Linked DNA regions of Homo sapiens: region 2 is linked to region 1. Evidence: promoter capture Hi-C in 16 types of primary human blood cells and fetal thymus (Javierre and others, 2016). All regions are on one chromosome and are shown on one strand. The core of a region is centred on a gene start or on the middle of the fragment in contact, and the rest is flanking DNA. Distances in the headings are between cores, read along the strand shown. Region 1 holds the start of BTN2A2 (butyrophilin subfamily 2 member A2). Region 2 has its middle 3.7 kb from the start of TRY-GTA6-1.

Region 1 (7,325 bases), core at 1,108-3,607:
CAAAGCCCTGGGTCTTATTTCTTCAAATAAAAATATAAAGTCAGGTCTCATCCTGGGTGGCCATGCTCTTAGACACTTGCATCCTTCTCTTCTGTCCTTTCCCAACAGCTGCCCAGTCCTGGTTGGAATATTCTAATACTGACATAATTACCCTCATTAGCCACTCAACCCAGGATCCAATTTTAATTATAATCCAGAAATATCAGGTGATGAGTGAGGCTTCTGTATGAGAATGGGACAGTTCAAGTGTCAATTCAATAGTAAAAACACTTCTTAGGCCTTTCTTTATCTTATTCTCATCAAAGAGCTTTCTCTGCAGAAGGGACCTACTGGTTCATCCTTCCTGGTCCTTGATCTTCTGATCTAGAGTGGCTTAATAGTGCTGCCACCTCTCTCTCGAACTCTGGTGCCGAATGATTCCAGGAACTGGGCCATCCTGTGGTGGGAATGACCTTACCCTGAGCATGTCACTCATGCATTGAACAACAGCTGAGAGCAGAGCTTAGAGTTGGGCCTTGTAAGGAGAGAAGAATCACATCCTGCAGAAGTCTGTCCTGAGGAACAGGTACTCCAGTCACAGCAAAGACACAGTTGATACCTGGATAACAATAATAGAAGACAGGACATGGGAACAGCAAAAGATATGGGTGTTAGAAGAGGCCGAGAGCACTTCAGGCAGGAGCATTCAGAGTTGTTCTTGGAGGAAGTAGGCACGAAGGCTGGGCAGGATTTCAAGGGGCAAAGATGGAGCAAGCAATTCAAGTGAAAGGCATGGCATGGGAAAGGGAGCGCTGGCCACAGGGAGTGCAACGTTGTGATGCAAGGCCACTGTGGAGCCATTGCTAGTGTATTAACTGCAAAGTTTTGAATTGAATCAGAAGGGAATTGGAGGCCTCTAGACTAAGCATTTATTTGTGTATATTTTATTATTTATTTATTTATTTTGAGGCAGGGTCTCACTTTGTCACCCAGGCTGGAGTGCAGTGGCATGATCTCAGCTCACCCTAACCTCCACCTCCCAGGTTCAAGCCATTCTCCTGCCTCAGCCTCCTGAGTAGCTGGGATTACAGGCATGTGCCACCACACCCAGCTAATTTTTTTTTTTTTTTTTTTTTTGGTAGAGACGGGGTTTCATCATGTTGGCCATGCTGGTCTTGAACTCCTGACTTCAAGTGATCTGCCTGCCTCCTCCTCCCAAAGTGTTGGGATTACAGGTGTGAGCCACTGCACCAGTTCCAGACTAAGTATTTAGACATTTGAGGGGATTATTGACAACTGGGCCTTGGGAAGATTATTCTGGAAGATATCTATACAATGACAAGATTGGATTCTGTGGGGGAGGGATTATGTTCATGGGGAGGAGGTTATGTGTGCTGGTGTGTGTGTGTGGTCCTTGGACTTAACCCCACCACCTACTGGCAGAAGGTCAAGGTCAACTGAAAGTCTTTGCTCACTTCCATCTTCTGCCTCCACCAGAATACCACCTCCCCGTGGGAAAGGGTTTTTAATCCTCACTCAGTATTCTCAGCACGTCTTATCCAATAGCTTTGGAGTGAACAACAAGACCTTCATAACAGCCACTGCAACTGCTGTCACCTTTCCTTTGCTACCCCTCCCACTCCAGCCATGCCTGCTTCCCCCAAGGCCTCCCGCGCACCAGGCCCAACCTTCAAAGCCAGCAACATGAACAAGAGTCCTCTGGCTTTGGAAAGACGGCGGCTTATGTTTTCCTCCTCATGTTTCCTCCCCAGCAAAATCACTCTACATAGAGAGCCCTCTCCTCGTCTACACCAGCAAAGCCACTGACACCTTGGGGATCTCAAGGCTTTGTAAAAGAACGGAAGGAAAGAAAGAAAGAGAGAGAGAGAGAAGGAAAGAAAGAAAGAAAGAAAGAAAGAAAGAAAGAAAGAAAGAAAGAAAGAAAGAAAGAAAGAAAGAGAAAGAAAGAAAGGAAGGAGAAGAGAAGGAAGAGAAAGAGAGAAAGGAAGAGAGAGGAAGGAAGGAAGGAAGAAAAAAGAAAGAAAGCGAGAAAGAAAGAAAGAATAAAGTGAGAGAGAGACATATGAAAGAAAGAAAGAAAGAAAAAGAGAATGAGAAAGGAAAGAAGGAAGCAAGGAAGGAAGGAAGAAAGGAAGGAAGAAAGGAAAATAAAGGAAAAAAGTCTTGCTTCCAAAGACAGAAAAAGGAAATAGAAATACCTAATAATCCCAAAAGGTTATTTGCTGCTTGAGATTTTTGGGGGGTTTTTGTGTGTGTATTCTACCTAGTAACAGCTGAGAAATAAGGCTCGAGACACCATTGGTTGGTTCAGCCTCACTCGGCCAATCCTGGGCTCTAAACTGCTCAGTGGAAATCTTGGGACTTTTTGGACACCCAGAGAACAGGTCCCAGATACCGAGTCCGCAACTCCAAACATCGCGATTAATAGGAGGTGAACACAGCTTTTCTCTTCTCTTTGGGATGCTTTGTTGTCTGGTGGTGACTGTGCCCATGGGTGAGTTGTATCGGAAAATCGTCATGTGAGGATCAGAGGGGAAAAGAAAACAGAGGTTAGTTCTAGAAGGTAGGAAAGGGAGAGGAGGCGCTACAGCTCCGGGGTGGGGGCGGTAGCTGGGGGCGGTAGGTGCGGGGAGCGGGATCTGCTCTGGAGAGGAGAGGGGGACCTGGGAGACAGGAAGCCTACTGGTGGGGAGGCGCAGCCTCGCCTGGCTTTACCTCGAGTGTCCCGACCTGGGTCTCGGGGAGGGGGAAGTGGAGGGACGAGGGTGTGAAAGAATCCAGGGACAACTGAAGAAACCGGACTGTGGCCCGAGAAGTGGGAAGAGGAAGGAGGAAAACGGCCCCCTTGATCTCTGCATTGATGGCTTACTTATGGAATGTTTACGGAATCCCTCTTTCGGAGATACCTGAGCCTTGAGATGCAAGCGACTCCCAGAAGTTGGGGCACCGATGAGACCTACTTGAGTGACAGGAGAGGTTGGGCCCGACCAGCACTGAGGTGCCAAGACTCCTAGGCTGATTCTCCTCCTCTGTAACCCTAGGCCTCTGGTCTCTGCCTGCCCTGGGTGCTCATGGAACCAGCTGCTGCTCTGCACTTCTCCCTGCCAGCCTCCCTCCTCCTCCTCCTGCTCCTCCTCCTTCTCAGCCTGTGTGCACTGGTCTCAGGTAGGGATGTGTGTCACTTGCTGCTGTCACCTCTCAGAAAGGAACATCAACCCTGTAGTCTGCAAAGGGAAAGAAGGAAGAACTGTGGGGTTGTTGACTTATCCTTTCATTCTGAACATGTTCACTGAATTTATACCAGCACTGTCCAAAAGAAACACAGTGAAGCACAAAGGTCAAGTGCATATACAAGTGCAAATCTTCAAAAAGATTTTTTTAACTTTTTATTTATTTGTTTATTTATTTAAGAGAGAGTATATTGCTCTGTTGCCAGGCCGGAATGAAGCAGATGGAGAATGAGATCATAACTCACTGTAACCTGAAACTCCTGGGCTCAAGGGATCCTCCCATCTCAGCCTCCCAAGTAGCTGAGAGTACAAGCAAGGGCCACCACACTCGACTAAGTTTTATTTTTTGTAGAGACAGGGTCTCACTATTTTGCCCAGGCTGGTCTCAAACTCCTAGCTGTTAAGGATCCTCCCACTTTGGCCTCCCAAATATCTGCAATTACAGGCGCAAGACCCTGTGCCTATTCTACTTTTTATTTTAAAAGGTAAAAACATACTTGAAATAAATTTTAATAATGTATTTTGTTTCATATAAATAATCACATATCAATATTTAAATGCTTAGTTAATAGAACTATTACCAATGAGATATTTGACATTTTGAAATTTTAAATCTTTATAATCTGTGTGTGTTTTACACTTAGAGTTCATTTTTATTGGAACTGTTAAATAGCTAGTGGATAGATACCCTAATGGACAGTTCAAGTTTACACTACACTCAGGCACAGTGCTAGATTGCAAAATGGAGGAAAATCTCAGGGGCACAGGGTGCCCAGGGCGGGCTCCCCAATGTTTCCTTCGTGAAGCAGGAGCAGCCTCAATAGTTACTGCTCCCAGGGGTTGGTGCTGCCGACCAGCCACAGCTACTGGTCCCCAGAAGGGTTCTCAGCCCAAGAACCCCTGTAGCCTTGGAATATCTGCTTCCTTTCATCCCTGGAGTTTTTTTTGTTTGTTTGTTTTTGTTTTTTGTTTTTTGTTTTGCCTTAGAGTTGTGATAACTGGCATCCTTGTCTGATTCTGCCCTTGTTGAACAGCCCAGTTTACTGTCGTGGGGCCAGCTAATCCCATCCTGGCCATGGTGGGAGAAAACACTACATTACGCTGCCATCTGTCACCCGAGAAAAATGCTGAGGACATGGAGGTGCGGTGGTTCCGGTCTCAGTTCTCCCCCGCAGTGTTTGTGTATAAGGGTGGGAGAGAGAGAACAGAGGAGCAGATGGAGGAGTACCGGGGAAGAATCACCTTTGTGAGCAAAGACATCAACAGGGGCAGCGTGGCCCTGGTCATACATAACGTCACAGCCCAGGAGAATGGGATCTACCGCTGTTACTTCCAAGAAGGCAGGTCCTACGATGAGGCCATCCTACGCCTCGTGGTGGCAGGTGCATCACTTCATTTTGCTTTATTACTTTTGCACAGTGTGACTTTTGGGGAAAGTTTCTCCCTTAACCTCAGGCCCATTGCAGACCAACGGATTTCTATCTGGCGTCCCCTTTCCACAGAGAAAGTGGCTTCCTCTTGCACAAAGGCCACATGAGTGGGTTTGCCCTGCTAAGCTATAGGTTTCACTTCTTTTTTTTTTTTTTTCAAGACAGAGTCTTGCTATGTTGCCCAGGCTGGAGTGCAGTGGTGCGATCTTGGCTCACTGCAACCTCTGCCTCCTGGGTTCAAGCTATTCTCCTGCCTCAGCCTCCTGAGTAGCTGAGATTACAGGCATACACCACCATGCCCGGCTAATTTTTGCATTTTTTTAGTAGAGACGGGGTTTCACCATGTTGGCAGGCTGGTCTCAAACTCCTGACCTTGTGATCCACCTGCCTCAGTCTCCCAAAGTGCTAGGATTACAGGCGTGCGCCACCACGCCCAGCCTGGGCTTCACTTCTTCAGAAGCACACGCATTCCTCAGCTGAGGCCATGAGCAGGGGAAAATAGTTAATCCCGGAAAAGAAAGTCTTATGCCTGCCTTGGCACTGAACTGTGCACGTCTGAGAGTGAAAGGAGACACTGTCAAAAATTGTCCCGGGGCAATCAGAATCAATAAGAACTGCCCAGAGAACTATGACATGAAATCTTATTTTTCGATAAATATTAATCTTGACATTTTCTTCTTTCCTGAAATACTGATTGCAGAGAGAGTGACTTTTATATAAATAGATGATTTTTATTAAAGCACAACTAAATACAGAAACAAAGTTATCTATAATTCCTGCTAACTCCACAGAGAAAGACTAAGAATTTAGCTGGGAAGAAATTGGCAAGGCTTCAGCATAGAAATGCACTTAAACTGGGATTTCTAATAGTTTGTTAAAAGTGACACTAAGTGATTACCTCAGTGTTGCAGTTAGTGTATTTTGCTTTAAAAGGTATATTTCAGGACTGAAAAAAGCCTTTAAGTTGCAGAATAATTCGTGGTGACATTTCAGTCCATCAGACCAGTGGAGGCAAGGACTAGGAAATTGGGTTCTTCCCAGGGGGCCCCAAATCATAACAGGTAGGAGACCCTATCTTTGCTACTCACAAAGGCAACCTTACATCTGATTAAAACAGAATATCGTGGATGGAGGGCTTCTTGACCCATTGTCATGACTGTGTTCACAGCAGCACTGCAATGTTGCCCAGTAATGAATGGTTGTATGTGGCAGGGACCCACTACTCTTTCTCTGTAAAACCAACCCTGTCCTGGCCTTCCCTAGTCTGAATTGGGTTGCTGTAGGACTTTTTGTTTGCTTGCTTATTGTACTCTGTTTGTTGGATTGGTTGGTGGCTGATTTTTCCCTTAAATCTATTGTGTCATGCTTACCCGTATTGAACCCATGGAATGTTTTGTAGGACTTTGTTTTCCAATTTGCTGAGGTATTTTAATTTCTTTTCTAATTCAGGATTTCTGTGTGAGCCTTCAAATGCACAACTAGCTTTTTTCTCCTGACAAAAATTAAACAGAGCAGAAAGCACTAGGCTTAAGTGATTGCTTTAATTTTCTTTCTTTAACATAATTTGTTGGGAGACTTTACAAAGGAATTATTCAGGAGAAGTTTGGATGATCACGCATGGCTGAAGGGTCTCCCAGGACCATGCTTTTGCAGCTCTCTCACTCTGGGTATTCTCTTTCATTGAAGGTTCTAGTAAAGATAGAATATATTTAGGATGAGCCTGAATTATTAGGATTTTTGGTGATGATCTCTGACATTGAGGAGGCAATATGGTTATCTTAAGGATCCCAGGGGCATCCAGATATTTCTAATACATTGATGTTCTTAAAGGACTGTAAGAAAATTCTCTATTGGATGGAACCTCTGGGAGGTAAACAACTGTGAATTAGAATAAGAATTGGCTTTGCCAGCTAGTTCTGTCTATTCTCCTAAAAACCATCACCTCCTATGGAGGTAGATAGCCATGGTGATGTGAGGCCCTGAACTAGACAGAAGTGTCAGTGACTTTGGTTCAAAAAGTTTCTTAAGATTTAGCCAAGGCTGAGCATAGTGGCCCATGCCTGTAATCCCAGCACTTTGGGAGGTCAAGACAGGTGAATTGCCTTAGCTCAGGAGTTTGAGACCAGCCTGGGCAACATGGCAAAACCCCATCTCTACAAAAAAAAAAAAAAAAGAAAGAAAGGAAAAAAAGCTTCTGCCAACCTGATAGGTTTCTGTCATTAGTGTATTATTTTAGAGCTTCAGGAAATTGAGGTCTGCAGAGAAGTCATCCCAGGAGCAGAAAGTGAAATTCTCAACCTGCCTGTTGAGAATTTGGACACACCCTCCTGGAAGTGAGAAAATTAGTCTTTGCCAGAATAAATTGCACAGCAAGCATTTATAGCAGACAGATAGATGCTTGGTGCTGTGATGGGGCCTTCAGGTGGAGCATAAAGAAAAGTGTGCAATGTGATCCTTTCTCTTTGAGATCTCACAATTTATTTTGCATATTGGTTTCCTGATGTTCTCCAAAACCAAGGGTCTTTCTAGCAACCATCCATCAAGGTGCAGTAGGGGCTAAGATACCACTGCCTTTTGGCTGAGCCCTGGTCTCCCTTTCCAGGCCTTGGGTCTAAGCCCCTCATTGAAATCAAGGCCCAAGAGGATGGGAGCATCTGGCTGGAGT
Region 2 (7,325 bases), core at 2,881-5,380, 210 kb after region 1:
AAAAACAACCCACTGGGATTTTTATTGGGATTGTGTTGAATCCATAAATTAACCGGAGGGACTTGGCAGCTCCACAGTATCAAATCTTCTGATCCATAAATATGTTATATCTCTCATTTATTTGGTTCTGAGTGATTTATTTATTTATTTATTTATTATATTTTTGAGACAGAGTTTCCCTCTGTCTCCCAGGCTGGAGTGCAGTGGCAACATCTCCGCTCACTGCAACCTCGGCTTCCCGGGTTCAAGCGATTCTCCCGCCTCAGCCTACCGAGTAGCTGGAATTACAGGCGTGCGCCACCACGCCCGGCTAATTTTTGTATTTTTAGTAGAGACAGGGTTTCTTAGTCATACAGTAAGTTGATGCAAAAGTAATTGCCGTTTTGCCAGTAGAAAACGGCAAAAAGTAATTGCGGTTGTTCCCATCTTTTACTGGCAAAACCGCAATTACTTTTGCACCAACCTATAAAGTACAACTTATAAAGTATTTTGTTTACTTTATAAGTCAGGGTTTTGTACAAGTAAAACTTTCAAAGTGTGCATTTAAAATTTTTTTTAAAAAAATTGACAGCAGTCTGTAAGTGTTGAGAAGAAAGTGCACATTTTAGCAAGTTCAGGCAAATGTATGCTGGAAGTAACCAACACAAATACAAAGATAAATACATATCCTTTGCTTCCCAAAACTGTCTCATGCCCTTTTACAGTCGATTGCTGCTATCCATTCTCAGCCCCTGACAACCCAGGCTGGAGTGCAATGGCGCGATCTCGGCTCACTGCAACCTCCATCTCCTGGGTTCAAGCGATTCTCCTGCCTCAGCCTTCCGAGCCTCAGCCTCCCGAGTAGCTGGGATTACAGGTATGTGCCACCACGCCCGGCTAATTTTTTATTTTTAGTAGAGATGGGATTTCACCATGTTGGTCAGGCAGGTCTCGAACTCCTGACCTCAGGTGATCTGCCCGCCTCGGCCTCCCAAAGTGCTGCGATTACAGGCGTGAGCCACCGCGCCCGGCCTGATTTTGGTTTTTATACTTTTGTCTTTTCTCTAACTGTATAAATGAAATAATTTGGGACCAGGCACCGTGGCTCATGCCTGTAATCCCAGCACTTGGGGAGGCCGGGGCGGGTGGATCACTTGAGGTCAGGAGTTGGAGACCAGCCTGGGGAACAAGGCGAAAACCCGCCTCTACAAAAATTAGCGGGGCGTGGTGGCACGTGCCTGTAGCCTCAGCTACTCGGGAGGCTGAGGTTGGAGGATAACTTGAACCCGGGAGGCGGAGGTTGCTATGAGCCGAGATCCCACCACTGCACTCTTTAGAGCCTGGGTGACAGAGTTGAGACCCTGTCTAAATAATAATAATAATAAATTGAATGTATCCCTTTGTAATTCCCTGTTGTTGTTGTTGTTGTTGTTGTTGTTGTTGAGACAAGAGTTTTGCTCTGTCACCCAGGCTAGAGTGCAGTGGCGCGATCTTGGCTCACTGCAGTCTCTGCCTCCCGGGTTCAAGCGATCCTCCTGCCTCAGCCTCCCAAGTAGCTAGGGTTACAGGCTCCCGCTACCGCGTCCGGTTAATTTTTGTATTTTTAATAAAGACGGTGTTTCACCATGTTGGCCAGGCTGGTATCGAATTCCCGATCTCAGGTGATCCGCTCTCCTTAGCCTTCCGAAGTATTGGGATTACAGGCGTGAGCCACACCGCCCAGTCAATGATTGACTTTCTTTATATAACATAATGCTTTAAGATTTATCAATGTGGTGGCCTTTTTGGAGGCCGAGGCAGGCGGATCACCCGAGGTCAGGAGTTGGAGGCCGGCCTGCCCAACGTGGCGAAACCCCCTCTCTACTAAAAATACAAAAAATTAGCCGGGCGTGGTGGCGGGCACCTGTAATCCCAGCTACTCGGGAGGCTGAGGCAGGAGAATCGCTTGAACCCGGGAGGCAGAGGTTGCAGTGAGCCGAGATTGCGCCACTACACTCCAGCCTGGGTGATAAGAGCGAAATTCTGTCTTAAAAAAAAAAATTATCAATGTGGCATATATTAGTAGTTAATTCCTTTTATTGCTGAGCAGTATTCCATTATGTGGATTTACTACAACTTATCCATTCACCAGCTGATAGATACTTGGATGTTTCTAGTTTTTGGCAGTTATGCATAAAGCTACTATAAATATTCATGTAGTGTTATGGCAAATATATGTATAACTTCATTTTTAAAAACTGACAGTGTTTTTCAAGGTGGACCAGTTTGTATTCCCACCAGCAATATATAAGAATTTCAGTTATTTCACATCATCATCGGCGCTCGGCACTGTTAATTTCTCACCTTTTTTTTTTTTAACTTCAGCTATTCTCTTAGGTGTGTAAAGTATCTCATTGTGGCTTTAATTTGCATCTGCCTAATGAATAGTGATGTTACATATCTTATTATGCTTATTGGCCATCAGTACAGCTTCTTTTGTAAAATATCTGTCCAAATCATTTGTCCATTTAAAAAAGGGTATTGTCTGGTCTTATTATTGAGTTGCAAGAGTATGTTATTGTTCTGGTTATAAGTCCTGCATCAGGGAAGTGTTTTCCAAGTATCTTTTTCTAAACTGTGACTTTTTTTTTTTTTTTTTTTTTGGTAGAGAGGGGATTTCGCTGTGTTACCCAGGCTGATCTTGAACTCCTGGACTCAAGCAATCTGCCGGCCTCAGCCTTCCAAAGTGCTGGGATTACAGGCTTGAGCTACCATGCCTGGCCTGACTTGTCTTTTCTTAACAGTATCTTTTGAAGCGCAGATTTTTTGTTAAACTTTGATGAAATTCAACTTATTTTTTCCTTTATGGTTTATGCTTTTGTGTCCCATTTAAAATCTTTTTGCTTAACCTAAAGTCACAAAGAGTTCCTTCTACGTTTTCTTCTAGAGGTTTTGTTGTTCTAGTCCTTGCATTTAAGTCTTTGATTAATTTTGAATTAATGTTTGTACATTGTGTGATATAAGGGTCTAAGTTCACTTATTAGCACATGGATATTCAGGTTTTTTAGCATCATTTTGCAAAGATTATCGTTTTCCTGTAGAATTACCTTGGCACCTCTGTCAAAAATCAATTAATCATAATCATGTAAGTTTATCTCTAGACTCTATGTAGCTTTGTTGTAAGTCTTGAAATCAGGTAGTGTTCTTCCAACTTTGTTCTTCAAAATTAGTTTGGATATTTTGCATCTTTTGACTGTCTGTATACATTTTATACATTTTATATTTGGCTTGCCAATTTCTAAAAAAAATCATTGAGATTTTGATAGTCATGGCATTAAATGTATCAGTCAATTTGAAAGATGTGGAATTGATATCTGAAAATTGTTTAAATTTTCTGTTCTGGAAACAATGCATTGCTTTCATTGCATCTTGGTAAATTTATCTCTAAATGTTTCATATTTTTTATACTATTTCAAATGGTATTTTGTATTTCAATTTCTAACTATTTATTGTTAACAAATACAATCTATTAATAAATAGAATTACAATTTATTATATTTGTGTCCTGCAGTTTTGGTAAGCTTACTCATTAGTTGTAGTAGCTTTGTAGAAGTTTCCTCAGTATTTTCTCGTAGACAATAATGTTACATGCAAATAAAGATAGTCTCACTTTTTCCTTTTAATCTGTATTTTTTTCTTTCTCTTGTGTTATTGCACTGGCTAGAATCTCTAGGATAATGCTGAATAGAAGTTGTGAGAGTGGACATCCTTGCTCTGGACCTGATGTTAGGGCCAAAACATTTGAGTTTTTCATCACTAAATATATTAGCTGTTGAATTCTTAAATATGTCTTTTATACTTTGCAGAAATTCTAACAAATGTATCTGAATTTTGTCAATTGCTTTTTTCTACACCTACTGGAATAATCATATGGCTTTTCCTGTTTAGTCTGATAATAAAGTAATTACACTGATTACATTGATTTCAAAATTAAATTCTAAGCTACACTTTTCTTTTCTTCTTTAATTCTTTGAAAGTTACTCTTCCCATTTTTTAGATTAAGGTACAATTCACATACAGTAATGTCATCAGTTTTAATGTACATTCTCCTTAGTGTAGCAAATTTTGTCAAATATAGACAGTCGTGTTATCACCATTACAATCAAGATATGGAATAATAATATCACTCTACCCCCAAATTTCTGCATGTTTCTTCTTCTTTTCCTCCTCCTTCTTCTTCTTCTCCTTCTCCTTCTTCTTCTTCTTTTTTTTTTTTTTTTAATAGACAGGGTCATGCTCTGTTACCCAGGCTGGAGTGCAGTTCTTCCATCATAGCTTACTGCAGGCTGGAACTCCTGGGCTCAAGCCATTACAGGCATGACACCAGGCCTAGCCTCCCAGGAGGAAAGAAGAAAGAAGTTGTTTCTTCTTCTTCTTTCTTCCTTCTTTCTTTCTCCTCCTCTTCCTCCTCCTCCTCTCCTTCTCCTTCTTCTTCCTCTTCTTCTTTTTCTATTTTGTTCTTACTGAATCACTATGTTTCTTTTATACTTAATTTCTCCCCTATCTTCTACCCCAGTAGCAACTAAGGATATTTTCTGTCCCTATAGCTTTGCCCTTGCAAGAATTTCATAGGAATAATATAGTATGTAGCATTTTGTATCTGGCTTTGTAAATTCAGCATAATGCAGATGAGTTTCATCCCTGTTGTTACGTTTACCAATAGTTTGTTCCTTTTTATTCCATAGGAATATTATAGTGGTCTGTAAGCTTCAAGAGAAGTTAAAACCATCTAGGTAGGACTCAATTCGCAAGTTGAAAAGGTGCTAAAACAATAGAGAAGCTACAGGGTGAGATTGTAATCAAGTGATGATGATACATTTCCAAGAATTATTTCAGATAGTTAGATTTAGCCATAAACCCATTTTGAACTTGTGTCTGCAACAAGAGGGAATAAATAGAATGGCCGTTCTGACACCAGATTCTGTAAGAAGAGGAAGAAGGAAGTCTTCCCTCAAAGTGATACAGAAATCTAGTGCGGAAAGGTACTAATTACTTGTTCTTGTATTCCCAGGAGGCAAATATTGGGGATTATCAGGGGAAAGAGCATTTCAGGCAAATGAAATTCCAACTTTAACAGCCCTGAGGTGTGATTCTTATGCTAAGATTAGTTTATAGGTAAAGAAAATAATTGATGAGATTAGCTATTGGAGTTCTTCCTGATCAAAATCAACTCTATAGTACCGTGTCACTGAGAGTCAGGAGGCTCTGGGAGCTCCTGAGCATAGCAGTAACTGATGAGAAACATACTGAGCATTTTTTTCTGTATGTTTGCTGCCCCCTGTGAAAATTAGTGAAGCTTTTATTCGAGAAAGCATGTGAACTGAGATCCTGGGGTTTGGTGGTGAAATGGCAGGGTTGGTCAACTGCTTTCACATCTGGTGTCCAAGGCTCAGTTAGTACACTTCATATGGGCAGAGACCATCTCATAAGAATCTGCTCATTTCTCTTCTCTGGCTTCTCGTATTTTCCCCGACTAGGTTACATTATTGGAAAGGAATTTACCAGACCATATATTCTTAGTTTCTCATGGCAATGAATTGAATAACTGAATTAAATATTAGTTATGTTGCTGCAGATATTTCTCATGGGAAACGCTGGAGAGGATCTTTTGAAAAAAAAAACCGTATTTTTGTCAAGATTACAATTATGGAGAACTTTAACTGTAATAAGTGATGATCTTTTATAAATAAATTCACCAACACTCCTTTCCATAAATTTCACAATTTATAATTTCCATATACTTCTAATAATTTTATAAAAAAGAAAAGTCTCTCCAGATGCCTTCCCGTTCTTCCCATTGGTGTTCATTTCTGTTTTAGGCACGAGGAAGCTGAATACCATGATAGGTACTTATTAGCAAAGCATGACAGCATACCTTTGTGAAAACTGTCAGAATCAAAATGGAGTCACTATTGTTAAAACACACAAACACACAAAACAAACTAAAAACGCTAATTAATAGAGCTGGAAAAGGCCATGCTTGATAACAAAAACTATCACAAAAGACTGCAAAAACCACAATCTTGCACAGGCCATCACAATCTTACACAAAAAATACTTCTACAAGGACATCTGCCCCACAACTGCCTGTCCAACCTCGGACTAGCTTCCTCTTTGCTATCCATTTTTGTAGCAGACAATAATTACCTCAACACAGTTATATAATCCTTCTCATTTTTTCCCTTACAAATCTTTGTCGCTGAGCTCGGTGGCTCACGCCTGTAATCCCAGCACTTTATATTCTGGATCATGAGGTCAGGTGGGCGGATCATGAGGTCAGGAGTTCGAGACCAGCCTGGCCAATATGGTGAAACCCCGTCTCTACTAAAAATACAACAATTAGCCGGGCGTGGTGGCGGGCATCTGTAATTCCAGCTACTCCGGGAGGCTGAGGCAGGAGAATTGCTTGAACCCGGAAGGCGGAGGTTGCAGTGAGCCGAGATTGCGCCATTGCACTCCAGCCTGGGCGACAGAGCCAGACTCCAACTCAAAAACAAACAAACAAACACCTTTGTCTTCCTTTACCTCCCTGAATATACATAGTTTCCTATGGCACTCGTATTTTCATTGCAATGCTCTATTCCCAAATAAACATCATTTTCTTTCAGAGAGCTTCTCTTTGTTATTTAGGTTGACACCTGTAAATAGAATGCTATATTTCTTTTTTAAATTGTAGGGGGAGAGAGAAGTGTTGTGTTTCATTTACTTGTCCCATTACAATTGTGCAATATCATATGAGCCGCTCAATTCCTAAACATATGTACACACACAACGCACTTCTGTTTTGTGTCTCGAACACAAATTACAAATTATACAAATTGTGTAATTTTCCTTGCCCTTCAGAAAGGAGAATCTCAATGTTTCCGAAATGAACTGGGCAGTAACTTCGCTTCAAGGCGGTAGGTCCCCCCTCTTCAACCCAGTTGTCTAAAATAACCTTGTCTTTATTATTTACTTCCTATAGAGAGAGGAGGTGCTAAGCGGACAGGACAGCTGGACAACACGCGCAATAAGGGCAATGGTCCTATCTATTCTAAGGGAGGAGGACATGGAATATTGGTGTGGTTTTGTTTATTTTTTATTTTTTTGGACCTATGTGAAACATTTTTACAGTAAAACCCACAAATTTTAAATGTTCAAGAGAATTGTTCATATACTTGTATAGTCAGTATCCCTACTCAGATAAGAACATTTTAGAACATTTTGGAACATTTCTAATATCCTAGAAAATTTCCTCACGTTTCCCTATATTTTCAAAATGAACAAGAATACAGGATAGTCAAAAGCAATAGGTAAATCCTAAAGAA

The links. Contacts are between HindIII fragments. The CHiCAGO score rates a contact against its expected background, and 5 or more counts as called.
Region 2: a contact is called between a fragment that was not itself captured here and the fragment with the promoter of BTN2A2 in region 1, in 11 of 17 cell types (total CD4 T cells, total CD8 T cells, erythroblasts and 8 more). The highest score is 10.1, in total CD4 T cells.

The regions. Positions count from the first base shown.
Region 1 is chr6:26,380,751-26,388,075 of GRCh38, forward strand. BTN2A2 (butyrophilin subfamily 2 member A2) reads left to right here and starts at 2,358. Exons shown (of 8, transcript NM_006995.5): 1 at 2,358-2,431; 2 at 3,042-3,165; 3 at 4,265-4,612; 4 at 7,263-7,325. The coding sequence starts at 3,072. RefSeq lists a silencer at 2,207-2,296. The HindIII fragment of the contact is 7,335 bases long and covers 1-6,849 here.
Region 2 is chr6:26,587,527-26,594,851 of GRCh38, forward strand. No RefSeq gene overlaps it. Among named protein-coding and RNA genes, the nearest start is that of TRY-GTA6-1, 3.7 kb to the right of the region's middle. RefSeq lists a cis regulatory region at 5,286-5,390 and a silencer at 6,055-6,349. The HindIII fragment of the contact is 1,186 bases long and covers 3,538-4,723 here.